Regions from separate parts of the Homo sapiens genome. Here all the other regions are linked to region 1. Evidence: promoter capture Hi-C in human tissues and cell types (Jung and others, 2019). All regions are on one chromosome and are shown on one strand. Each heading gives the region's core, a stretch centred on a gene start or on the middle of the fragment in contact. The rest is flanking DNA. Distances are from core to core; before and after follow the strand shown. Region 1 holds the start of RNF4 (ring finger protein 4). Region 2 overlaps FAM193A (family with sequence similarity 193 member A). Region 3 overlaps FAM193A (family with sequence similarity 193 member A). Region 4 overlaps FAM193A (family with sequence similarity 193 member A). Region 5 overlaps ZFYVE28 (zinc finger FYVE-type containing 28).

Region 1 (2,815 bases), core at 119-2,618:
ATTTATCTATCAGATACTCTACCATGCCAGATTTCCTTACAATTACGAAAAATAGCAAACACATATTGTTTGTAAATGCAACACAAAAACGTTAATGCTCTGGTTTCTATCTGCCTTGTCATTCCGTTATTTGACTCCATTTTCGAGGTTAGAAACTCACTGTAAGGTGGCCGGGCGAGGTGGCTCACACCAGTAATCCCAGCACTTTTGGAGGCCAAGGAGGGTGGATCACCTGAGGTCAGGAGCTCGAGACCAGCCTGGCCAACATGATGGAACTCCATCTCTACTAAAAATACAAAGAAAATTAGCCGGGCGTGGTGGCAGGCGCCTGTAATCCCAGCTATTCGGGAGGCTGAGGCAGGAGAATCACGTGAACCCAGGAGGTTAGAGCTTGCAGTGAGCCGAGATCGCGCCACTAAAACAAACAAACTCACTGTAAGGAAACAATGTAACCCAAGGCATTTGGGGTGACCTTCACGTTGCCTGAGGGTGCCGAGGGACCAGAGATGCTGGCCATGGACTAAGGTCTGGGTATTCTCAGGCAGCAGGGACAAGGTGGGCTTTTTTCCTGGTTGCTAAACCCACGTCAAAGTCGAGCTCAGGGACTGGAGCTCAAGAAACCCACCGCCCATTCTCCAGTCCGACCGGGGACCTGCATGCACCTCTGCCGTGCTGCCCTGAGTCCTCCAATCCTCCACACTCTTCCTCTGTTATGTACACGTCTCCACCCAGGCCTGCAAAAGTCCCAGCTTCCTCGCAGGGGCAGGGACCCGCACGCCGGCCCAGGGCTTGGCACGCGGGGATGCTGAAACAGGGCCAGGCCTGGTTTCCAGCCGATCGTCAGAGTCCCAAGGCCCAGCAACCTTCCTCACAAAGGCCTCGTTAAGAGGCGAGGAAACAAGAGCCGGGAGAGGGGCGCGGAACGGCGGGCGGGACGAACGACCAGCTCCGCGCCTCCGGCCAGCTGCGTCGAGCCAGGGGCACCGCGGCTGTTGTGCGGCTGGAAATCTAGGAATGGGAAGGTTCGGGGCCTGCTCGGCTCCGGAGGCAGCTGGCGGGTCGTCCCTGGCGGCGTTGGAGCGGTCAGTGGCAGCCGGGCACGGGCGACCGGGTCGCCCGGGTCGCCCTCAGACCGTGACTCCCGAAAAACCTTGCGGGCGGGGCGCGCCCGCGCCGTCTCTTGCCGGAAGGTGCGAGTTAGTGCGCTCGATTGTGGGCGGGGGCGGAAAGAGGCGCGTTTTAAAGTGGTAACAGATGGTTTTCTTATCCAATAGGATTAAAAAATTTGTCCTTACCCGGCCGACCGCGGAAGTAGAGTAGGCGGGCGGCCAATGGGGACATGATGGGGGGCGGAGCCGAGGCCTCCGAAGCGGAAGTGGGTTGCTGTTGAGGCGGCGGCATCTTTCTCGAGGAGCTCTCCTGGGCGGCTGAAGAAGGAGCTTCTTCTCCGGAGTGCGCCGGCGGTGGCGCCTGCGGACCTAACTAGCTCCAGGTTAGGCCGAGCTTTGCGGGAAAGCAGCGGTAAGTCAGGGCCTTGCAGATGCGAGGTTTAGGCAGCTTCGCGGCCTACAGAGGCCTCGGCCCGCGCCTCTTGGGGGAGCCGCGCTGCGCGGCTTGACCCAGCCGAGGCTTTGCAGCCCGGGACCTCGAGCCAGCTCTGGTCGCTCGCACTGCCGTCCGCGCGGGCGCACCGAGCCCGGCTTGGCGCGGGCAACAGAAGTTAGGAGGTCTGCGTCTGGGTCTCGGCTCACCCTGGGGGGCCGCGGCCATGGGGCTTAGTTCCTAGCCTAGGAAGGGAAACTGAGACTCTGGGAGGGGCAGGAACGCCCCCAAGGTCACTTGGAAAGTCGGGCAGGATGTGCTGTTAGGGGGAAGACCCGGGCAGGGTTTTTGTTCCCCGCTGACGACGCCTCCTTTGTGTGTTCGCGCCGCCGCCCCGCCATCGTGGGGCCTGCGAGTTTGCCGGGGTGCGTGGGCCGCGTGGCGGGGCCTTTTGTAGGTCGGGAGGATCTGAGTACGGGTGCGGGCCTGACCGTGGGGGCGCCGAGGTCGCAGTCTAAAACTTAGTAGGGCCTCGATTTCCGGGCGCGCTTCCGGGCCCCGGCTGGTGGTTGGTGGAACGTGCGACTGTGAGGCTTGCGGCCCAGCCCTGCACCGCTCGGGCCCTTCACCGCTCTGGCGCGCCTATAGACAGGTGTATGAAGATTCTCACGACCCGAAACAGAGTTGCTAGTAAACACCGCTTTTCCGCCTTTGATCCATCGAGGGAAGAGGGAAAAGGATAGAGCTTGGGCAAGCCGTTTTGGTAGGGATTTCAGCTTTTGTCTTTCACTTGTCAGTTCCCATAGACGTTCACAAACTTAATAATCTTCGTTCTGTTTCTGCACCAAGTTCTTGAGCCAGACGTAGGGTCTCAGCTCTGGAGCCTGGCTTAGACTGTCCAACTGACTGGGGAGACTGAGGTCCAGAAAAGTGAAGTGGTCTGCCCAAGGTCACATAGCCAGCTATTTGGCAGCAGATGAGGTTAAGTCCTACCTGCAAGATTTGGGTTTTGAATTCATTGACCAGGAGTTTTGGGACCACTGTCAATAAAAGAGACATTGAAGGGAATCTTTTGTTACTTTCTTGGTGATTTGCTTTTTAATGGACAAGGACATATTGGGTTCAGTTTTATCTGTGAGTTTGAGGTGAAATAGAGGCATTCGAGTAGCAAGATATATTGCTGGCTTTTGTATTGCCTGAATTTGAGCTTCCAAAAATCTTACTTTAACACATCGTTTATTGATCTTTTCTTGAATTACTACCTTTGTAAGGA
Region 2 (2,815 bases), core at 144-2,643, 230 kb after region 1:
CATTCAACTGTAGGAAGAGCTTTCCAACCTCATGTGTTTTTTTCATTCACTTAGTTATATCAGGATAGATCCACGAAGTTTTACTTGATGCTATAGATGAGAATCTTTTACGAACACTCTTTATGTTGCTGTTTTGATTGTCTGAGATTCGGTCAGTGGGAGCCCCCTCGGAATGGCTTTTTCCTTAGACCATTTGATGCGGCCCTACCAGCCTTTAAGCATTTTATACTTTGTGTCATGGTTCGATGCTCCGGGCTCATCTCGTGTCTTCTCTCTCCCAGCCCTGAACCAGCCATTTCTCCAAGGAGCCCTCCTCTTTCTTCAACAGTGGTGTTCAGAAACCCAGACCTGGACACTGCCATATGGCATTGCTTTTAGGCCCTCTCAGTCAGCAGAGCAGGAGGAGTGGGGGTGTGAGCATGTGCACACGAGCGCCTGCCACCTACACACACTAATTGCTATGTACAAGCCGTGAGTTCCCACAGATATCCCAGCCCCACTCCTGTGCTACAGTGAGCGTTCTCCCTTCCCCGTCCACCTTTGTAACTCCTTAGACAGTAAGAACCTGGACCCCATCATCCATGGTGCCTTTACTGACTTGCTGAGTCCTACAACACAGGTAAAGGGTTCAGAAGTCCCTGCCCTTACCCGATGGAAAACTCCGGGCATGCTTTCGGTATTTGTTCAGTTCTTTTTGTCTTTAGCCTCAGGGTGTGGTGATTACACTGAATTTACAAATGACTTAAATTAGTTCTTTTCACCTTTAGTACAATTACGTTATTGATTGAAAACACACCTGATTGCGTTTTTCCATTTGTGTTCCATTTGTTTTCTCCCCTACCCAGTTCCTCTTTTTTTTTAATCTGTTCCCACCCACTCCCTGTAGGTAACTAATCAGTTTCTTATTTGCTTTTCTTTTTTACATAAAAGGTAGTGTATTATAGACATAATAGTGACTTCTGGGTTCTTTTCTACTTCATATATTCTGGGAATCACTGCACATCAGTTCGTAGAGATTGTCCTCATTCTTTCTGCAGCGACACGGTACTCCATTTAAAGTGTACGATGATTTCTGCAGTCACTCTTCTTTGTGCGAGCGTTTAGGTTGTTTCTAATGCTTTGGTTTTTTGTTTTTGTTTCTGTTTTAAGGTGGAGTCTCACTCTGTCATCTAGGCTGGAGTGCAATGGCGCAATCTCGGCTCACTGCATCCTCCACCCCCCAGGTTGAAGCAATTCTCCCACCTCAGCCTCCCAAGTAGCTGAAATTACAGGCACGTGCCACCATACCCAGCTAATTTTTGTATTTTTAATAGAGATGAGGTTTCACCATGTTGGCCAGATTGGCCTTGAACTCCTGACCTTAAGTGACCTGCCCACCTTGGCCTCCCAAAGTGCTGGGATTACAGGTGTGAGCCACCGTGCCCGGACTCAATGCTTTGTTTTAATCATTACACCCAGTGCTACAGTAAGTACTTGTGTGCATATGTGTTTCCATATTGTTTGGAGGTGTTTCCTTGGAGCACTTTCCCAGAAGGGAGAGGGCTGGGTCAAAAGGTAAGTGTGTTCCCGGTGTGGTGGCTCACGCCTGTAATCCCAACACTTTGGGAAGCTGAGGCAGGAGGATTACCTGAGGCCGGGAATTTAAGACCAGCCTGGGCAATATAGCAAGACCCCATCTCTACTAAAAAAAAAAAAAAAAGCCACTTATCTGGGCATGGTGGTGCACGCCTGTAGTCCCAGCTACTTGGGAGGCTGAGGCAGGAGAATCGCTGGAGCCCAGGAGTTTGAGGCTGCGGTGTGTCATGATTGCACCACTGCACTCCAGCCTGGGTGACAGAGTGAGACCCTGTCTCTTAAAATTTAAAGCAGCCGGGCATGGTGGCTCACGCCTGTTATCCCAACATGTTGGGAGGCCGAGGGAGGCGGATCACGAGGTCAGGAGATGGAGACCATGCTGGCCAACATGAAACCCCGTCTCTACTAAAAATACAAAAATCAGTTGGGCGTGGTGGCACACGCCTATAATCCCAGCTACTCGGGAGGTTGAGGCAGGATAATTGCTTGAACTGGGGAGGTGGAGGTTGCAGTGAGCCGAGATCACACCACTGCCCTCCAGCCTGGCAACAGAGTGAGACTCCATCTCAAAAAAAAAAAAAAAAAATTAAGGCTGGGCATGGTGGCTCACATCCATAATCCCAGCATTTTGAGAGGCCAAGACAGGCAGATCACTTGAGGTCAGAAGTTCGAGGCCAGCCTGACCAACATGTGGAACCCTGTCTCTACTAAAAATACAAAAATTAGTCGGGTGTGGTGGCACTCACCTATAGTCTCAGCTACTGGAGACACCGATGCAGGAGGATCACCTGAGCCTGGGAGGCGGAGGTTGCAGTGAGTCAAGATCACGCCACTGCATTCCAGTCTGGGCAACAGAGCAAGACCCTATCTGAAAAAAAAATAAAATAAAAATTTTTAAAAAGGTAAGTGCTTTCATAGTTTTTTTGCTAGCTACGTCCAAGTTCTCCAAACCCTCCAGTCAGCCCACCCACCAGCAGCATCTGAGTGCCTGTTTGGCCACAGCCTTGCTTATAGAGTAGTTGTCAGGCTTTTTAACTGTTGCCAATCCGTTAGCTACAGTAAGCCCTCAGTGTAGTTTTCATTTGCATTTTTCTCCTCTAATTACAATGAGGTCAATATATTATTAAGGGCTATTTCTTTTTGTGTGTATGAATTTTCTATTCATACCTATTTCTCATTTCTTACTAGGTTTTTGGTCTTTTCCCTTTTGTATTTAAGAATTTTGTTTTTGTTTTTGAGA
Region 3 (2,815 bases), core at 118-2,617, 210 kb after region 1:
AGTAGCTGGGATTACAGGCATGCACCACGAGGCCCGGCTAATTTTGTATTTTTAGTAGAGACAGGGTTTCTACATGTTGGTCAGCTGGTCTCGAACTCCCGACCTCAGGTGATCCACCCGCCTCGGTCTCCCAAAGTGTTGGGATTACAGGTGTGAGCCACCGCGCCCGACCCTGTAGTTTTTCTTACAGTGTCTTTGGCTTTGGTATGGGGATATGCTCAGGACATGAGTTAGAAAGTGTTCCCTCCTCTTCAGTTTTTTGGAAACTTTGAGAAAGATTGGTATTAATTCTTTAAATATTTGGTAGAATTGACTAGTGAAGCCATCAGGTTTGGGGCTTTTCTTTATTGGGTGATTTTTTTTTTTTTCTTTGAGACGGAGTCTTGCTCTGTCACCCAGGCTGGAATGCAGTGGCACAATCTCCACTCACTGCAACCTCCGCCTCTCAGATTCTAAGCGATTCCCTGGCCTCAGCCTCCAAAGTAACTGGAACTACAGGCACATGCCACCACACCCAGCTAATTTTTGTATTTTTAGTAGAGACGGGGTTTTGCCATGTTGGCCAGGCTGGTCTCAAACTCCTGACCTCAGGTTATCCACCCATCTTGGCCTCCCAGAGTGCTGGGATTACAGGCGTGAGCCACTGCGCCCAGCCTATTGGGTGGTTTTTGATTACCAGTTCAATCTCCTTACTAGTTACAGGTCTGTTCAGACTTTTCTATTTCTTTATGATTTCGTCTTGATAGGTTTTGTGTTTCTAAAAATTTTTTCATTTCATCTGTTTTATCCAGTGTGTTGGTGTACAGTTGTTCGTAATACTTTCTTTTTTCTTTGAAACGGCATCTCACTCTGTCACCCAGGCAGGAGTACAATGACATGATCATAGCTCATTGCAGCCTCAAACTCCTGGGCTCAAGCATTCCTCCTCCCTTGGCCCCCCAATAGCTGGGATTACAGGCATGTGCCACCACTCCCAGCTAATTTTTTTTTTATTGTTTTGGACTCTTCCAGAGAGAAGACAGGGTCTCACTATGTTACCCAGTCTGGACTGAAACTCCTGGGCTAAAGCAGTCCTACTACCTCAGCCTCCCAAAGTGCTGGGATTATAGGCATGAGTTACCAAGCCCAGCCAATACTTACTTACTTTTTTTTTTGAGACGGAGTCTTGCTTTGTCACCTAGGCTGAAGTGCAATGGCACCATCTTGGCTCACTGCAACCTCTGCCTCCCAGGTTCAAGAGATTCTCCTGCCTCAGCCTCCCATATAGTTGGGATTACAGGCGCCCACCACCATGCCCGGCTAATTTTTGTATTTTTGGTAGAGATGGGGTTTCACCATGTTGGTCAGGCTGGTCTCGAACCCCTGACCTCAGGTGATCCACCCACCTGGACCTCCCAAAGTGCTGGGATTACAGGCGTGAGCTACAGCGCCGAGCCCAGCCAGTACTTTCTTATAATACCTTTTATGTTTTTTTCTTAATTTTAATTTAATTTTCTGCTTTTTAGAGATATGCTTGCTCTGTTGCCCAGGCTGGAGTGCAGTAGCACGATCATAGCTCACTGGAGCCTCGAACGCTTGAGCTCAAATGATTCTCCTGTGTTAGCCTCCCAAGTAGCTATGATTACAGGTGTGCGCCACCACTCCCAGCCCCTTTTATTTCTGTGTAATCAATAATAATGTCCCCACTTTCATTTCTGATTATAGTAATTTGAGTCTTTTTTTTTTCTTACTCCATCTCACTAAAGTTTTGTCAGTTTTGTTTCTCTTTTCAAAGAACTATATTTTGGTTTCATTGATTTTTTTTTTCCCCTATTGTTTTTCTATTCTCTATTTCATTGATCATTAATCTCTGCTCTAAATTACCTTTCTTCTGCTAGCTTTGGGTTTAGATTGTTCTTTTTCTAATTCATTAAGATGTGAAGTTAGGGAGGGTTTTTTGTTTCATTTTATTTGTTGTTGTTATTGAGACAAAGCTTACTCAGTTGCCCAGCCTGGAGTGTAGTGGTGCGATCTTGGGTCACTGCAACCTCGACCTCCTGGGCTCAAGCAATCCTCCTGACCCATAGTCTCGTAGCTTGGACTACAGGTGTGTGCCACCATGCCCAGCTATCTATCTGTCTGTCTATGTATTTATTTACGTAGGGACGGAGGTCTCACCATGTTGCCCAGGTTGGTCTCAAACTCCTGGGCTCAAGCAGTCCTCCTGCCTCAGCCTCCCAAGGTGCTGGAATTACAGGCATGAGCCACCACGCCTATCCTAGTTAGGTTGCTGATAGAGATCTTTCTTGTTTTTTGATGTGTTTGTAGCTATACATTTTGCTCTTAGTGCTTGCTTTCACTGCGTCCCGTAAGTTTCAGTATGTTATGTTTTTGTTTTCATTTGTCTCTAAGTATTTTCTGCTTTTCTTTGTAATTTCTTTATTGATCCATTGGTTGTTTCCATCCCTTTACTTTTAACTTCTCAGGGTTTTTTTTTTTTTGGTTTTTTTTTTTTTTTGAGACAGAGTCTTCCTCGGTCGCCCAGGCTGGAGTGCAGTGATGCGATCTCGGCTCACTGCAAGCTCCACCTCCTGAGTTCACACCATTCTCCTGCCTCAGCCTCCCAAGTAGCTGGGACTACAGGTGCCCACCACCATGCCCGGCTAATTTTTTGTATATTTAGTAAAGACAGGGTTTCACCATGTTAGCCAGGATGGTCTCGATCTCCTGACCTTGTGATCCGCCCACCTCAGCCTCGCAAAGTGCTGGGATTACAGGCGCGAGCCACCTTCTCAGGGTTTCATATGTAAAGCAGGTTTCTTGTAGACATGTATAG
Region 4 (2,815 bases), core at 208-2,707, 190 kb after region 1:
CATCTCCTTTACGAACTCCAACTTCATTGGTCTTTCTGCAAATATTGGTGGTTCCCTGGCCTTGACCCCATGCCTGTCTCCACATTTGCATGCCCGTGGTCTCCTCTGGGCACCACAGGTATACAGATGGCACCAGTGTTGTGGCATGCTTACCTCTTCCCTTTCCCCATTCTGCATGTGTCCCTGTGCTTTTGTTGTTGTTGTTGTTTTGAGACAAAGTCTCACTCTGTCGTCCAGGCTGAAGTGCAGTGGCGTGAACTCGGCTCACTGCAACCTCTGCCTCCCGGGTTCAAGCGGTACTCGTGTCTCAGCCTCCTGAGTAGCTGGGATTACAGGTGCCAGCCACCACGCCTGGCTAATTTTTGTATTTTTAGTAGAGATGGGGTTTCACCATGTTGGCCAGGCTGGTCTCAAACTCCTGACCTCAGGTGATCCGCCTGCCTCTGCCTCCCAAGGTGCTGGGATTACAGGCGTGAGCCACCTTTCCCGGCCATCCCGTCCTTTTGAGTGGCCCTTCCAGCTGCCACCTGTCCCATTGCCAGAGTGGGTCCAGAGTTCCTTCTCCTTTGAAATGCAGATGCTCACCTTGTCTGTTAGAAGTTGAGGTGCCATTTCCTCAATAGCTCCGAGGCCGACCCCTTGCCCTCCACGTGCCACTTTTCATTCCTACAGCTCTGTTCTCAGTACCTTGCAAGTACCAAGCACATGGCAGACAGGGTAAAGGCCGGGTTTCTGCATCAGGTGTGTGCTGTGAGGGCGCACTGCAGCATGTTTGCTGAAGACAAAAGCGATTAGGGTCTCCTGGTACCCGAGCCCTTTGCAGCTCAGCCCCCAGCTTGCTGCCGACTCCAGGTCTGCTGCCCCTGTATTCCTGGTCCTGTCCCGCTGAGGAAGCAGTGCCCGTGAACATGATACATGTCAGCAGAATTACTGAAAAATAATGAGCCATGTCTCGGGGAAGGGTCTTGCAAGATTAAAGCATTTTAAAATTTCCTCTAGTTAACCAATAAGAAAGCAGTTACTGGCGAGAACAACTTCACAGACACCATGAGGCACATGTTATCGTCCCGGCTGAGCATGCCCGACTGCCCCAACTGCAACTACAGGAGAAGGTAAGGCTGGGTTGTGGTGTCAGCACGACTGGCCCATTGGACCTTCACTGGGCTGAGTGGAGGCCTAGAACCGACCCTTAGAGAGCATGGTCTAGTCTTGTGCATTGGTTGGCTTGGTAACTGTCCTTAATTCCTGATCAGATGTGCTTGCGATGACTGCAGTCTCTCACACATCCTCACGTGTGGTATCATGGACCCCCCCGTCACTGATGACATCCACATTCACCAGCTCCCACTTCAAGTGGATCCTGCTCCTGACTATCTTGCTGAGAGGAGCCCGCCCAGTGTGTCATCTGCAAGCTCGGGGTCCGGCTCCAGCTCTCCCATCACAATTCAGCAGCACCCCAGGCTCATCCTCACAGACAGTGGCTCGGCACCAACTTTGTAAGTTGTGACTTTGTAATAAAGTTTCCGAAATTTAAGTCGCCCCAGTAATGAGAAATACATACAGTAATGTCCACAGAAGTATGAACATCATTATTGTGCTTTTCATGACAAGGGACCCTGAGGTTTTTAATGCAGCTTTTAAAACATGAAATCAGTAAACCCAAACTTTTAACACTGTTTATCTGGGAAAAAAAAAACATGGTAAATTAATAAAGGCCAGTAAAGAAAAAACATGTTGGTATGCAGAGAAGAAGTGTCTCTAATTCCGGCCTCACATCTCCTCATTCTCCTAAAGGGTGACCAGTCCGCCGTCTGTCCTGTCTCCCTGTCAGCCCAGCACTCATGCTTGTTTCATGTCTTGCTAAGAACTCAGGTGATCGCTTTAGCAAGCAGTTGAAGGTTTCTGTTTTTCATGTTCCCGCATGATTAGAAGTACATTGTTGTGCAGCTGTCACCAATTCACATTGTAGTTGGCTGTTCCCAGATTTCTTCAGAGTTGTGACCCTGTCATTTGGGGAGGCTTCACATGCTAATTTCCAAAAGGGTTGCACTTGATCATATGTAGTTGCCAAAGTCAGCTTAGGTTTAGTTTACGTGTATCGTAGAGCACACAGGCATCATGTTCCATGTGGAAGTGTGCAGTGGGAGAGATTGTTGTTCCTGACCTTGGCTATGCAGCGTTTCTGGGATTTCTCTGACCAACTGACTTGTGTTCATTCCTTCTGTCTGGATTTCTCATGGTGACTGACGTTTTCCTTCAGTCTTTCCATTTTCAATTTGGGCTTGTTCTCAGACAAAATAATTCTGAAAGGACTGGTTTAAACTCACTGACTCTCTTCATACAAAGATTGCAGGCTGCTGTTTATTGCCTTAGAGACACTGTGTACTCTCCAGGGCACAAGAAAGAGTGTTGACATTTTTGCAGCTGGCTGTTATCCAACTTCTTACTGAAACATAAAAATTAAACATATATAGCCTAATGAAAATTTAAGATGGAAAATTTCATCCCTGTTCATTTGTCACAGCTGCTGATGTCAGTTATGGTCTCTTGTGTCACGTGTGGTAGTGGAAGAAATTGGCTGTGGGAGCCTTTCTCCTTGGGCCGGAACTGCCCATCACCAGTTACGGGGAGCCTAGGTTCTCGGGACATCTGGGCCTTCAGCAGCTTGTGATCAATGTCTTCCAAATGTAAACTATGATTTGAAAATCTCCAGTGTTATCTTTTCATTTGTATTGTCTCTTTCTTGGTGCCTTTTCTAAGTTGGTTAAAAAGAACAATGTGATTGTAGTCAGTGTACCACACAGTACTTCCTGGA
Region 5 (2,815 bases), core at 112-2,611, 160 kb before region 1:
CCGTAGCCTCGACCTCCTGGGCTCAAGAGCTCCTCCCACCTCAGCCTCCCAAAGTGTTGGGATTATAGGCATAAGCCACTGTGCCTGGCCTTTGTTCTTTTTTTATGAAGTACACACAGCAGAAAAGCATACATATGTTCACCTGGAGACACACACAGGGGTAGTCACAGCAGCACTATTTGTGGAAACTACCCAAAGCCCATTGAGAGTAGAACAGACAACGTTCTGCTGCTGCTTGGCTATTCCAGGCCCCTTGCATCTCCACATGCATTTTAGTATTAGTTTATCAATTTCTACAAGGAAGGAAGGAAGGGAGGGAGGGAGGGAGGGGAGGGGAGGGGGAGGAGAGAATGCAGAAAGAAAGAGAAAGGAAAGAAGGAAAGCAAGAAAGGAAGGAAGGAGAGACAGAGAGAGAGAAAGAAAGAAAGAAGACAGAAAGAAAGAAAGAAAGAAAGAAAGAAAGAAAGAAAGAAAGAAAGAAAGAGAAAGAAAGAAAAGAAAAGAAAAGAAAAAAGAAAAGAAAAGAAAGAAAAAAGAAAAGAAAGGAAGGAAGGAAAGAAAAGAGAGAAAGAGGGAGGGAGGAAGGAAGGAAGCTAGCTAGCTTCTGGGATTTTGATTGAGACTGCATTGAACTCATAGATTAATTTGAGACCAACTGATATCTTCATAACATCAGGGGTTCCTCTCTCTGAATGGAATTGCTGTCCAGGGCTTTAAAAATTTATGGTAATAACATTTTATAACTTTCAATGGAGGTCTTGGACATCGTTAATTTGATTTATGCTTACGTATTTGATATTTACTGGCACTACCATAGGTGGTATTTGCTATGGTTTAGGGGTGGTTTGTCCCCATCAAAACTCAGGTTGAAATTTAGTTCCCAATGTGGTGGTGTTTAGAGGTGGTGTCTTTAAGAGGTGATTAGGTCATTAAGGAGATTAATGCATTTCTCATGAGACCAAATTAGTTACCACAAGAGTGGGTTGTCATGAAGTGAGGTTGCCTCTTGTGTTTGGCCTCTTTGCACACGCCCCCTTCCCCTCCTGCTTCTCTGCCACGTTATGACAGAGCACGAGGTCCGCACAAGAAATTAACCAGATGCAGCCACTTGATCTTGGACCTCCCAACCTCCAGAATCATGAGCTAAACGAACCTCCTTGCTTTATAAATTACTGAGTCTTAGGTATTCTGTGATAGCAACACAAAATTGACTAAGACAGTATTTTGATTTCATTTCGCATTTATTTATTGCTGGCATACAGAAAGACCACTTATTTTTGTATATTGATGTTTCACCTAGTGACCTTGCTAAATCTACTTATTATTTCTAATAGTTTGAAGATGCTCCTGAGTTTCCTAGGTACTTGATCACGTTATCTACATAAAATGGCAGTTTTAGTCCTTCATTTCCAATGCTGTGTAACTTCCTAATTTTCCTTCTATTTTTGCCTTATTGCACTTGCTGGGCCAGAAAACAATGTTAAATGGAGATAGTGAATAGTAGACATCTTCTTCCCAATCTCAGGGAAGTGTGCTGCAGTACACACACAACAGACAACACACACACAGAGATACGCACGGACGAAATCTGTTTCTATATCTATCTGTGACCAGGTTAAGGAAATTCCCTCCTATTCCTAGTTTGCTAAGAGATGCTTTTCTTGTTCTGTTTTGTTTATTGCTAAGAGATGTTTTCACCATAAAATTGGTGTGAAATTTTTTCAAATGCTTTTCTTGAATCTTTCAAAATTATATGATTTTTCTTCCAATTTTTAAAATTAATGTGGCAAAACATCAATTTGATTTCCATATGTTAAGCCAGTCTTGCATATCTGGAATACATTTCTTTTTTTTTTAATTTTGAGATAATGTCTTGCGCTGTCACCCAGGCTGGAGTGCAGTGGCCTGATCACAGCTCACTGCAGCCTCTGCCTCCCTGGCTCAAGCAGTCATCCCATCTCAGCCTCCCAAGTAGCTGTCAGTACAGATGTGTACCACCATGCTCAACTAATTTGTAAATTTTTTGTAGAGATCAGGTCTTACTATATTGCCCAGGTTGGTCCCAAACTCCTGGGCTCAAGCGATCCTCCTGCCTCAGCCTTCCAAAGTCCTGGGATTACAAGTGTGAGCCACTGTGCCCAGATATATTTCTCTTGGTCATGATATATCTTATTTATATATGGTTGATTTTCATTTGTCTGTATCTTTTTAAGGGTATTTGCATCTATGTTCATGAGAGATTGGTGTAGTTTTTGTTTCTTGTAATATCTTGGTCAGGTTTAAATGTCTAGATTATACTCTTATTGAAAAACAAAAAAAAGAGTTAGGGCTGGGTATGGTGGCTCATGCCTGTAATCACAGCATTTTGGGAGGCCAAGGCAGTCAGATTGCTTGAGCCCAGGAGTTTGAGACCAGCTGGGGCAACACAGTAAAACCCTGTCTCTACAAAAAATACAAAAATTAGTTGGGCATGGTGGTGCATGCCTGTGGTCTCAGCTACTCAGGAGGCTGAGGTGGGAGGATCGCTTGAGCCTGGGAGGCAGAGATTGCAGTGAGTCTAGATTGTGCCACCACACTCCAGCCTGCATGACAAAGTGAGAGTTTGTTCAATAATTATAAAAAAAGTTAGAAAATGTCTTTTTTTCTATTCCCTGAAAGAATTTATATAAGATTTGTGTTATTTCTTCTTTAAATGTTTAGAAGAATACATAAGGAAAGCCATCTGTGTCTGATGTTTTCTCTGTGGGAAGGTTTTAAAATAATGAATTCAACTTCTTTAATAGATATTGGATTAAAAGGTTTTCTATTTCTTCTT

The links. The method cuts DNA at HindIII sites, captures the fragments that hold promoters and counts their contacts. A contact is called where the count stands out against the background at its distance.
Region 2: a contact is called between a fragment that was not itself captured here and the fragment with the promoter of RNF4 in region 1, in 1 of the 25 tissues and cell types used here (mesenchymal stem cells).
Region 3: a fragment that was not itself captured here is called in contact with the fragment with the promoter of RNF4 in region 1 in 2 of the 25 tissues and cell types used here (dorsolateral prefrontal cortex and hippocampus).
Region 4: a contact is called between a fragment that was not itself captured here and the fragment with the promoter of RNF4 in region 1, in 2 of the 25 tissues and cell types used here (IMR-90 fibroblasts and aorta).
Region 5: a fragment that was not itself captured here is called in contact with the fragment with the promoter of RNF4 in region 1 in 2 of the 25 tissues and cell types used here (dorsolateral prefrontal cortex and mesenchymal stem cells).

What each region holds. Positions count from the first base shown.
Region 1 is chr4:2,467,738-2,470,552 of GRCh38, forward strand. It overlaps RNF4 (ring finger protein 4), which reads left to right and starts at 1,369. Exons shown (of 8, transcript NM_002938.5): 1 at 1,369-1,521. LOC107986250 (a long non-coding RNA gene) reads right to left here and starts at 1,214. Exons shown (of 2, transcript XR_001741551.3): 1 at 663-1,214. RefSeq lists a silencer at 912-1,081 and enhancers at 1,232-1,591, 1,275-1,847, 1,892-2,011. The HindIII fragment of the contact is 20,287 bases long and covers 1-2,815 here.
Region 2 is chr4:2,702,119-2,704,933 of GRCh38, forward strand. The region is part of intron 19 of FAM193A (family with sequence similarity 193 member A); the gene reads left to right. Among named protein-coding and RNA genes, the nearest start is that of TNIP2, 53 kb to the right of the region's middle. The HindIII fragment of the contact is 5,214 bases long and covers 1-2,815 here.
Region 3 is chr4:2,679,506-2,682,320 of GRCh38, forward strand. The region is part of intron 13 of FAM193A (family with sequence similarity 193 member A); the gene reads left to right. Among named protein-coding and RNA genes, the nearest start is that of TNIP2, 75 kb to the right of the region's middle. The HindIII fragment of the contact is 5,686 bases long and covers 1-2,815 here.
Region 4 is chr4:2,658,559-2,661,373 of GRCh38, forward strand. It overlaps FAM193A (family with sequence similarity 193 member A), which reads left to right. Exons shown (of 21, transcript NM_001366318.2): 9 at 1,000-1,112; 10 at 1,254-1,496. Among named protein-coding and RNA genes, the nearest start is that of TNIP2, 96 kb to the right of the region's middle. RefSeq lists enhancers at 1-463, 464-963. The HindIII fragment of the contact is 4,879 bases long and covers 1-2,815 here.
Region 5 is chr4:2,308,195-2,311,009 of GRCh38, forward strand. The region is part of intron 7 of ZFYVE28 (zinc finger FYVE-type containing 28); the gene reads right to left. Among named protein-coding and RNA genes, the nearest start is that of MXD4, 47 kb to the left of the region's middle. The HindIII fragment of the contact is 7,202 bases long and covers 1-2,815 here.